Linked DNA regions of Homo sapiens: region 2 is linked to region 1. Evidence: promoter capture Hi-C in human tissues and cell types (Jung and others, 2019). All regions are on one chromosome and are shown on one strand. Each heading gives the region's core, a stretch centred on a gene start or on the middle of the fragment in contact. The rest is flanking DNA. Distances are from core to core; before and after follow the strand shown.

Region 1 (6,197 bases), core at 2,396-4,895:
ATTTTTAGTAGAGACGCTGTTTCATCATGTTAGCCAGGATGGTCTCGATCCCCTGACCTCGTGATCCACCTGCCTCGGCCTCCCAAAGTGCTGGGATTATAGGCGTGAGCCACTGCACCCGGCCTTGCTACTGCCATCTGTACCAAGATTCAAGCTTCCTCCTTTTCCCAAGATCCCTACATCCTGACCACCAATTCCCAGCCTCCTTACTCTCTCTCTCTGCCCACCCCACTGCCCTGGTTCATGCCAGCTTCCGTGTCCCCACCCGTGAGGAGGCATTAACAGCAGTGAGGAAAGTGAGTGAGTAATGAATCTGCCTGCCACGGCCATAAGAGGCTTCGTGGCCTGGGTTCAAATCCCACCCCTGCCACTTACCAGCTGTGTGGCTGGGGGGCAAGTCACTTCACATCACAGGGCCTCAGTTTCTTCATCTGAAAAATGGGTGGAATTCCTGTCACTCTCAAGGTGGTTGTGGAAATCCAAAGAGATTACCCACGTATCCCATCTACACTCTGCCTCAGACTCCATTTAAGGACGCTGTTGTCATTACTATGGGTGTCTCCTCCTCTGCCCTGCCCTGCCCAGGAATATCCCAACCCTCTCTGCCTGCCAATACCTACTCCAGGCCCACTCCTCCATGAAGCCTCCCAGGCTTGCCCCAGCATGCTGGAACTGCCCCTGTGGTACAGATGGCTCAGGCCCATGAACTTAATTGCATGCTGCCCTGGCAGAACTCTTGTCTTCCAGCTTCAGGCTGTCATTTAACTTCATGTCTCTATTTTAAAACGTAAACCAGATGGCATCACTGCCCTGCCTGAAACTTTACAACAGTTTCCCACCTTCTGGAAGAAAAACTGCAATCTCCTTACTGTGACCCACAAACCCCTGCAGAATCGCTGCTCTGGGTTCATCTTCTGCTCCAACCATGTGATTCCAAACTTGGTCCAGCCTAAAGACCTTGGCCTTGCCCATCTCTCTCTCTTTTTTTTTTTTCGAGATGGAGTCTTGCTCTGTCACCCAGGTTGGAGTGCAGTGGCGCCATCTCAGCTCACTGCAACCTCCACCTCCTGGGTTCAAACGATTCTTCTGCCCTAGCCTCCTGAGTAGCTGGGATTACAGGCACGCACCACCACATCCGGCTAATTTTTGTATTTTTATTTTGTATTTGTTTATTTTTATTTATTTATTTATTTTTGAGACGGAGTTTCATTCTTGTTGCCCAGGTTGGAGTGCAATGGCGCGATCTTGGCTCACCGCAACCTCTGCCTACCGGGTTCAAGCGATTCTCTCCTGCCTCAGCCTCCCATGTAGCTGTGATTACAGGCATGTGCCACCACGCCCAGCTTATTTTATATTTTTAGTAGAGACAGGGTTTCTCCATGTTGGTCAGGCTGGTCTTGAACTCCTGACCTCAGGTGATCTGCCTGCCTCGGCCTCCCAAAGTGCTGGGATTACAGGCATAAGCCACCACGCCTGGCCTATTTTTATTTTTTTTTGAGATGGAGTCTCGCTCTGTAGCCCAGGCTGGAGTGCAGTGGCACGATCTCAGCTCACTGCAACCTCCGCCTCCCGGGTTCAAGCGATTCTCCTGCCTCAGCCTCCTGAGTAGCTGGGCTTACAGGCGTGCGCCACCACACCCAGCTAATTTTCATATTTTTAGGAGAGAGGGGGTTTCACCATGTTGATCAGGCTGGTCTCAAACTCCTGACCTCTTGACCCACCTGTCTCAGCCTCCCAAAGTGCTGGGATTACAGGGGTGAGCCATGCCCCTAGCCAATTTTTGTATTTTTAGTAGAGACAGGGTTTCCCCATGTTGGCCAGGCTGGTCTCAAACTCCTGACCTCAAGCAACCCACCCGCCTCGGCCTCCCAAAGTGCTGGGATTACAGGCGTGAGCCACCGCGCCCGGGCCCCCTTGCCTGATCTTTGCTGGGCTGGCACCCCTTGCCCACAACTACTCTCTACAGTACCACCCGCTCATATTTTATTCATAGCAGTTAGTGCCATCTGAAATTATCTTCTTTATTTACTTGCTAACTTGTTTGTTGGCTGCTTCCTTCCTTTCAGAGTGCCAACTCCTCAAAAGTAGGGATTTTGTTTTGTTCACTGTTGCATTTTCTGTGCCAAGAACAGTGCCTAGCACATGCACGTAGCAGGTGCTCACTAAATATTTGTAGACTGAGTGAATGAATGTGTCTCAGGTCCTCGTTCTGATTGCTCTCTGTGCTCCCCATCCTTGAAACAGCCCCCTAAACATGCCTGCTGTGCGGTTGCCAACTGTCCTAGGCTCCCCACTTTCCCTGGCTCCCCTCACACCTGAACACAGAGATGAAGAGCCACTTCAGCCCGGATATTGAGTGTTTGGGCTGGAATTTCAGCATCCTCACCCCCTCATCCTGGGAAGGGCCTGAAACTTAGCAACCCCACGGCCACACAGAAGCAGTGTGGCCAGCAGGAGGAGGGGAAGGGGGTTCCTGGGAGCACACAGAAGCTAGGGGAAGGGGGAAACCACGCCCAGGCTCCCCGTTCCAGCACAGTGTTGCTTTGGAGAGAAGGAGGGAAAGAGGCCTCTGATTCACTCTTGAAAAACCGGCTCCTGGGTGTTTCCGGGGAGAACGCCTACTTCCCAGCCTCGGCCCAGGTTGCCAGGGGGGAACCCAGTGGGCCCAGACCCCAGCATCCTGGCCCCCTGCAGACGCCACTCTCTTCTCTGGACCCAGGTAGTTAGACCTGCCCTCTCCAGCTCTGGGGAGAAGGGAAAGGAGGGCAGCTTCCTGTTTGAGTGGCTGGTAAAGCAAAAGACCAGCAGGTGTGGCCCTGATGATGAGTACGGGGTAGGGGGTGGGAGGGGTAGGGGGCCGGAGCTACTCAGCAACAACTGAGCCGTGGAGTTATTGGTATCCAGTCTAGTGGGTGTGACTCCAGTTCTGGACCCTGGGGCATGAGTTCCAGTCCCAGATGTGCCAGTTACTAGCTGTGTGACCTTGGGCAAGTCACTCCACCTCTCTGGGTAGGCTGCCTCACCTTTTTTACAAGAAGGCACAGCACCTCCCATGAGGTGTTTAGAGTCAATTATCCTCATGGTAAATGCCTGACACGGAAGCTCTCCAATAAATGCTAGCTGAGGTGGAGTTTTTCATGACGATTATTATTCAGACCGTGGTCCTCACTGCGTCCCCCCCAAGGCCCTGGAGGGTTCAGACGCGGTTAGCTCAGGGGAAGTGCCCAGGAAAGGGTCAGAAACACTGACCCCGCGCCTGTCCACGCTGGGATGGGGACAGTCCAGCCGGGGGACGGGGGGAGGGGCAAGCCCAGAAACCCCAGCCCAGCGTTGGGAGGCGTTTGTCCCCTGCCCGCCAGCAGGAAGGGAGCTGCCCCCACCACCCCCCACCCCCGCTTCCCCTGGGAAGGGGCCTCCGGCATCCCCGCGCGCAGCCTAGACCTCCAGTCGCGTCCACGGCGCCGGCCCCACCCTGCAGGATCGGCCGGATCCTCGCAGGCCCGCGACCCCCGAGGCCCCCGGAGCAGACACATCCTTCTCGCAGAGGCCACTCACCTGCTCCGCCGCCGCCGCCGCCGCCGCCGCCGCCGCCGCTGCCTCCGCCTCCCCGTGCGCACCCGGCTCGGCCCTCCGCAAACTCCAGACCGGGCCTCTCCCGCAGCGGCGCCTGGGGGGCGGGGCCGACGCCCGCGGCCGGCCAATCAGCGGCTGCCTCTCGGTGCTCGCAGCCAATCCGCGTCTTCCGCTTCGGGTGGACCCGACGGAAACATTCCAGAGGGATCCCTCCGCCTCGCCCGGCTCTTCCCGACTCCTCCCCTCGCCGCGAAGCAGTGGACCGTTCCGCCCCGCCTAAGCCGCGGCTGGCTGTACCACCGGAGGGCTGAGGAGGGGGGGGAGCTGCAGCTGGGCCCCGGCCAATCGCGAGGGAGGAAGGAGACAAGCGGCCAATGGGAAGGAAGCTGGGGCCCCTGAACCACGTGCTGTCGGCTGAGTGTCAGTCTCGGGTGCCCTGGGTGGTGAGGGGCGGGGGAGTCAGGTGACCTAGGCCAGGTTTCGGGGAAAGGATTCGAACTTCCGACGTCCAGGAAAGCGGACAGTTTAGGAGACCTGGGTGGGGGTCAATGGCAGTCCCCAACCCAGTTCCCTGCCCGGCCTCCTCTGCCCCAGCCTGGCCATCCTCGGAGCGGATAAAAAGATGCATTCAATCTCTGGGGGCGGGCGGGGGATCGAGATGAATAGGGAGGGTCCCGAGTTTCCCTGCTTCCTGGGCTGTACAATGGACAAAGGCATTCATTCATTCATTCGTTCACTCACTCATCAAATATTTAATGTGCCAGACTGCTCCGTGCCAGACTCTGTCCTACCTCTGAAGACGCGTCAGTGAATAAGCTGAATGTGCTCCTGGTAGAGGTAACAGAGCGTGCAAAAGCCGGACAGAGAGATACAGCACGCTTTAGGATACTGCAATATCGTGGGAGCTAGTAAATCAGTGTGGAAAGGCAAGATGCAATGAAAGACAAGGGTGAGATAGTTTATCTGCTTGTTGGTTTGTTTATGTGCTAGGTCACAGAAGGTACCCAGCCAGCCTTTCATAGATCTGTCTCCTCCATCTGACTGTGAGGGTGGAGGCTGAGTCTCTCTTGTCAACCCCTCACTCCCACCTCAGGCTGCCACACGGCAGGTTCTCAGCAAACCTGTGTGGACAAATAGACCATGTAGTTTATAAGGAAGGGGGATTTATCAGGTGGACACAGATCCAAGAAACAAGAGTCACAAATGCACCTGGACCAGGCCAGGACGCTCAGTTCCCGGGACAAGTGAGATTTCCTTGTTCTAGTTCAAACCCAGCCACTTGGACAGCAACTGGGGCTGAATGCTGTGTGTTCTGGGAACTGTAGTTCCTGGAAGCCTCTAAGTGCTGAGACCCTGCTCAAGCTCCATAGAAAGACTGGTTCTTTGCAGTTCCCAGGGTGAGATGTTGTGCATATCAGTCCCACCAGGACCTGCAGAGGGGCAAACTAAAATGGGAGATGGAACCTTGAGCTTTGCTGCTGAGGATTGCCTAGCCAGCCCCACCCAGCTGGCAAACACCGAGATTGCTGTGGCAGGCCAGGCAACAGGCACAGCTATTGTCCGTCCCTTCCTGTTCTGCTGACCTCTGCCATCCCACTGAGCAATCAGTTGCCTGGGCTGGCCAGTACCCTCTGTGGGACTGTGCTGCCTGCCCTGCTTGAGCCTGGCATCTAAGCTGCCCCCTGCACACTTGGAGAGGACGGGATGCTGAGCCCAGGGGACAGCATGACTGAGGCTGCAGAGTCCTGAGCCAGACTCCAACTGGCTCCTGTTTCCTGATGAGGAAGTGCCCGGAGAAGGGGTGATGGGATTGTGGGATTGCTCAAGACACAGAGCAGCACTGGGCACCTCCTTTCTGAATTTTTTTTTTTTTTTTTTTGAGACAGTGTCTAGCTCCGTTGGCCAGGCTGGAATGCAGTGGCAGGATCTCAGCTCACTGCAACCTCCACCTCCTAGGCTCAAGTAATCCTCCCATCTTAGCCTACCGAGTAGCTGGGACCACAGGCATGTACCACCACACCTGGCTAATTTTTGTTGTTGTTGTTGTTTGTTTGTTTGTTTTTTTGAGACGGAGCCTCACTCTGTCACCCAGGCTGCAGTGCAGTGGTGCAATCTCAGCTTACTGCAACCTCCGCTTCTCAGGTTCGAGCAATTCTCACGCCTCAGTCTCCTGAGTAGCTGGGATTACAGCGTGCGCCATCATGCTCGGCTAAATTTTTTGTATTTTTAAAAGAGACGGGGTTTCGCCATGTTGGCCAGGCTGGTCTCGAACTCCTGGCCTCAAGTGATCCACCTGCCTCGTCCTCCTGAAATGCTGGGATTACAGGCATGAGCCACTGCACGCAGTCTATTCCTTTGTTTGTCTGTTTGTTTGTTTTGAGACAGAGTTCCACTCTTGTTGCCCAGGCTGGAGTGCAATGGCGCAATCTCGGCTCACTGCAACCTCCACCTCCCAGGTTCAAGCGATTCTCCTGCCTCAACCTCCTGATTAGCTGGGATTACAGGCACCCGCCACCACATCTGGCTAGTTTTGTATTTTTAGTAGAGACAGGGTTTCATCCTGTTGGCCAGGCCGGTCTCGAACTCCTGGCCTCAAGTGATCCAACTGCCTCATCCTCTCAAAA
Region 2 (5,489 bases), core at 1,693-4,192, 490 kb before region 1:
TCCCTGGTATCCAGCTTCCTGGATCCCTGTCATCGACCCACACAGCCCAGCAAGCGAGAAGCAAGTCAACCTTTAAAGCCACGAGGGCTCTCACTGGATTCAAAATGATAAAAATAAAAGCCAACGGTGTATTTCCGAGGGTTGAACAGGAAGCGACAATCACCGTAACAGCAGAGGCTAACATAACTACATTAGCAATTACTTTGTATTTAGTTAGTTTCAGCAATTCCTATGTATTTGATATTCAACAGGTATTATTTTCTGGGATCCATAGCACAGAAACATGAGATTGAAAGGACTACCAAGGATTACTGCCCCTAGATGAAAGGAAGGGAAACTGAGGCCCAGAAAACTTAAGTAACTCACCTAAGAGCACACAGCTAGAAAAGCTGACTGTTTCAAGTCAGCTTCAAATCACCCTAGTGTTCTCTTCCTAGTCAAATGACTCCTCAGGCCCTTCATCTGTAAATGTAACTGGTGACTGAGGCAGTCAACATGACCAGATAATTGGTAACATCACTTTCTGCTCAGTTAGCTTTTTTTTTTTTGAGACAAGTCTCACTCTGTTGCCCAGGCTGGAGTGCAGTGGCCTGTGATCTCAGCTCACTGCAACCTCCGCCTCCCAGGCTCAAGCAATTCTTGTGTCTCAGCCTCCCGAGTAGCTGGGATTACAGGCATGTGCCACCACGCCTGGCTAATTTTTTTAGAAACAGGGTTTCACCATGTTGGCCGGGCTAGTCTCAAACTCCTGACCTCAGGTGATCCGCCCACCTCAGCCTCCCAAAGTGCTGGGATTACAGGTGTGAGCCACCACGCCCAGCCTGCTCAGTTAGCTTTTTTAAGAAGGGCTAGCCGGGCGCGGTGGCTCACGCCTGTAATCCCAGCATTTTGGGAGGCCGAGGCAGGTAAATCTCGAGGTCAAGAGATCAAGACCATCCTGACCAACATGGTGAAACCCCGTCTCTACTAAAAATACGAAAATCAGCCGGGCATGATGGCGAGCGCCTGTAGTCCCAGCGACTCAGGAGACTGAGGCAGGAGAATCACTTGTACCCGGGAGGCGGAGGCTGCAGTGAGCCAAAATCAAGCCACTGCACTCCAGCCTGGCCACAGAGTGAGACTCCGTCTCCAAAAAAAAAAGTGCTGATGATCCGTCTAGCAACTTGGCATTTCTAGCTTTTTTGTTTGTTTTACTGAAAATTAATCTCCACCTGTCCTAACTTTCAAAGAGTCCCTGCCTCCTCTAAAAAGGGCCAGGCCTAGAAAAAGTACCTGGAGAAGTTAGGACCCGCCAACCCCCACCAGACCAATCTCAAACTCTTGGGAAAAAGCCTGAAATGATCCTTTTCCTTGGAATGTATTGACTGATTTAAAAGGAAATGGCTGCAGTTTGCACACCGACACTAAGCTCAAAAGCAAGACGGAGAATAAGCCAACTAGACTTGGCCTGGCTGGCTACTTAAAAAAAAAATTCCTCCCCGAGCTGGCAGGATATTGTCACCCTAAAAAGCAGTGGCAAAGATTCTCCTCTCACAAACATGGATAGCTTCCCCTTCCCTCTGACCGCTCCTGCCCACGTGGCCCTAGAGGCTGGGACCTTGTCAGTGACATGTGACTCGGTTGACACTCGTTTGACACAAAAACATGTGTCTGGCCAAGAGAAGCGGGTTTAAAAAATCTAAGAAACTTCCTCAGGCTTCATTTGCTCCCCCATTCCCAGTAGGGGAGACCTCGATGGGCAGGACCCAGAAACGTTCCATCTCCAGGAACAAACCCCCGCAACCTCAAACCAGGAAACATCAGGTCTCAAACAGCAGCCCAGAGAAAAGCACTCAGGTTTCTGTTCCTCTAAAGCATTCCCTCATGGTCACTCCTCCCTACCATGGACTTTGATTTCTGCAAACCAGATCCTCCACGCTAAAGCCAAATCGACTCCTAGCTCCTCCATGAAACTTTGCTTCCTCTTTGCTTCCTCCCAGAGAGAAGGTGGCAGGTTTAGGAGTGGGCTGCAGTGTTGAAATCAGGACTAGCTGACAGTTATTTTATCAAACCACATTCAGAAACGGTAGATACGAGGAAAAGGTTCAAAGATAAGCCGTAAGTAAAATTCCTGGAAGGAATGAGGAGTCCCGGTACTGCAGGAAAAGGGCGATGTCAATGATTCTCCCCATTTTACAGGATGGAAAACTGAGGCCTCAGATGGACAGGCACTTGTCCAAGTTCTGAGTCCTGGGACAACTGCAAAGCTCTTAAGGAAGAAGGGAGTCGCTTAAGGATCTGGAAGGCGGACCGGGTGGTGGCTGCCCACCCTGGTTCCCGAGGTGGAGGTTGGGGAGACCCAGCCGGCCCCGCCCATACCTTCCCTCCTGGTCCCGCCCACCCACCTTGGCCCCGCCTCGTACCTCCCTCGCTCCCATTGGCCCAGCCTCCCCAGGCCCGCCCCTTCGCGCTCCCGACATATAAAAGCCCCCCGCCCCGGCCTGCCGACCTCCACTCGCCGCGGGCCTGCGAGCGCCCGCCCCTCGCGGGGGCCGGGCCGCGGGGACGGGGGCGGGTGGTGTCGTTCCAGCCGGGCCCCGGCCCCCTCCCCCACGGTCCAGACAGTCGCCGCCGCCATTTTGACCGCCCGCCCCTTCCCCCCGGACTGTGATTACAGAGACACCTACTGCCCCGGCCCCGCCGCCCACCCCGGCCCGGCCAGCCACCCCGGGGCCGCCCTGGTTACCTCCGCTTCTCCCCACTTCTGTCTGCGGAAACGCTTTTCGGAGGTCTCGGAGTCGATGTTGGGAAGGGGACGGGACGTGCTGGGGTCCCCGGGCCGGGCCTGGGGGGTGGGGGTGGGGGTCGGCCGGGCGGTTGTTGTTGTTGACTCGCGTTGCCGGGTTGCTTGGTCGCCACGACTACCGTGGCTATGGCGCCTCCGTTTCCCTCACCGGGGCAACTGTTGCTACCCACCCTAGTTACGTCACGCGCGGGGGCGGGGCCCGGGGTGATTGGCGGCGGCCGGAGAAGTGATTGGACGGCGCCAGGCCTTGCAGCTAAACTATTAGTTCCGATGCACGCTTTTCAACACCCTCTGGACTTCCCGGCGATCTGATTTATCAGTATGAATGTCCATCAAAAGAAACTGAACCCTCAAAGGCAGCCGGGCCCGTCACTCCGGCAGGGAAGCAGCTGGTTAAGAATAAAGGGGTAGGACTCGTGAGGACGGGATTGGTTTGCCGATGTAAAACCGGCCTCCTGGTTCGACTAAAGGGACGTCAATCTACCAAAGGTTTGCCGCGCTCTCTGGCTGGAGGCCGTGCGCATGCTCGGCACGCAAGGCCGATTGGGAGTTGTAGTCCGCTCTTGCGTACACTTTACATGTCTTACCAAATTAAAAAGGCGAGAAAGGAAGACTCCGCTCCAGACTTCTCTCTCGCTCGGTGGGCCAGTTTCTGGCTTCTTGCGCTGACGTCAGGGGAGGAATGCAGTGACGCAGCGCAGCCCCTCTGTGACGACAGCGGCGAAGGCCGGACTCGGGATTCGATGACGTCACTGGGCGCGCGTCCCCCTTCCCCACTGCCCATGGCCCCGTCGGGGTTGGGTGGAAGCGGGAGGCCGCGGCGGGGTTCGATCCCAGCTCCCACCCGCTGGGGTGACATCCTCCTCCGCCCAAGCCGGCCAGACAGCGCGGCCGCCGCGCCTTCTCCCGCCTCCCGGTCCCCTCCAGCCGGAAAAGGTCACCGCTGCCGGGGTGACCGCGGCTATCTCTGCCCCGCAGGCGGTGCGGCCGCCTTGGGAAAGGTCTCTGCAAGGCGGGGGACTTCATTCGCGGCTTCAACCGCGGTAGATAAGCAAAGGTCAGCCCCGACCCAGCCCAGGGAGCTTGGTCCGCCCAGGAGAGCTCACCACAACCCCCGCCACACACACACACCTCCCACACATACGCTCCTCTGTGCCTCAGTTTCCTCAAGGGACTGTCTGGGTGCTGCAGGACGAGAAGAGACAGAAACAGGGCCCGGACTAGGGTGAACATCTTGGGAGCAAAAACTCAGTCATCAAGATAAATAATCTTCTAATTCAATATTTGTTAAATATCCAAATTAATGGGAAAAAATAAATCTATGATGAACAAAACATCACAATTTTAAATAAAGACAGGATCCGCCAACACAGGGATTAAGGTGAGATGCGTTATGCAAGCTCAGGGTCAGATCTTGTGTTTAAAATAAATTTATTATTATTATTTTTTGAGACGGAGTCTCACTCTGTCGCTGAGGCTGGAGTGCAGTGGCGCAATCTCGGCTCACTGCAAGCTCCGCCTCCCAGGTTCACGCCATTCTCCTGCCTCAGCCTCCCGAGTAGCTGGGACTACAGGTGCTCGCCACCACGCCCGGCTAATTTTTTGTATATTTAGTAGAGACGGGGTTTCACCGTGTTAGCCAGGATGGTCTCGATCTCCTGACCTCGTGATCCGCCCGCCTCGGCCTCCCAAAGTGCTGGGGTTACAGGCGTGAGCCACCACGCCCGGCCTACTTTTTATGTTTTAAATGTCAATTATCTTATGACTGAGCTCTTTGGCCTTCTCTTAAATTTTGCATTCTCATCCCAGGTAGGCCCTAGAACAGCAAGGGGAAAAGAAAACAGGCTCAGACAGCCCTGAAGTCTAATGCCAGCCCTGCTGTGTGGCATTCAGAAAGTGACTCCACCTAAGTTTGTTTCCTAATTCAACCAACATTATATTTCCTCGGTGCAAGGCCCTGGGCTATACAAGTGAAGAAAGGTGACTTCATTTATGGTGGCTCACACCTGTAATCCCAGCACTTTGGGAGGCCAAGCAAGGAAGATTGCTTGAGCCAAGGAGTTCAAGACCAGCCTTGGCAACAAAGCAAGACACCCGTCTCTACAAAAATTAGCTGGGCATGGTAGTGTATGCCTGTAATCCCAGCTACTCCGGAGGCTGAGGTAGGAGGATTGCTTGAACCCGGGAGGGGGAGGTTGCAGTGAACCAAGATTCTGCCACTGCACTCCAGCCTGGGCGACAGAGCGAGACTTTGTCTCAAAAAAAAAAAAGCAATTAGCTAGGCGTGGTGGCATGTGCCTGTGGTCCCAGCTACTCTGGAGGCTGAGGCTGGCAGGATTGGTTCAGCTCCGGAGGTAGAGGCTGCAGTAAGCAATGATTGTGTGGTCCAGCCTGAGTCTCAGAAAAAAAAGAAAAAAAGGAAAAAAAAGAAAGCAAACAACTCCCTTTGCATTCTAGGATGGGATACACAATAAACAGATAAATTGTAAGATAGGCTCCTTAGAGTCCTGAGAGCAACATAAGAGAGTGGGGTAGGAGAATGAGAGGATGCTGTAGCCAGTGTTATCTGAGGGGGGATGTCCCACAGAATGAGCCTGAGTGGTGAGAGACGAAGCAAGCCTCATAAATCCAGGTGGAGGGGCCGGTCATGATGGCTCATGCCTGTAATCCCAGCACTTTGGGAGGCCAAGTTCAGGAGTTCCAG

The links. The method cuts DNA at HindIII sites, captures the fragments that hold promoters and counts their contacts. A contact is called where the count stands out against the background at its distance.
Region 2: the fragment with the promoter of RFX1 here is called in contact with the fragment with the promoter of GIPC1 in region 1 in 2 of the 25 tissues and cell types used here (dorsolateral prefrontal cortex and spleen).

The regions. Positions count from the first base shown.
Region 1 is chr19:14,492,482-14,498,678 of GRCh38, forward strand. It overlaps GIPC1 (GIPC PDZ domain containing family member 1), which reads right to left and starts at 3,646. Exons shown (of 9, transcript NM_005716.4): 1 at 3,556-3,646; 2 at 376-431. RefSeq lists enhancers at 2,961-3,887, 5,168-5,667 and silencers at 3,550-3,779, 3,920-3,979. The HindIII fragment of the contact is 12,252 bases long and covers 1-5,868 here.
Region 2 is chr19:14,003,378-14,008,866 of GRCh38, forward strand. It overlaps RFX1 (regulatory factor X1), which reads right to left and starts at 2,943. Exons shown (of 21, transcript NM_002918.5): 1 at 2,726-2,943. RefSeq lists enhancers at 2,169-2,697, 2,698-3,225, 3,226-3,753 and silencers at 2,365-2,744, 2,795-2,974. The HindIII fragment of the contact is 30,728 bases long and covers 1-5,489 here.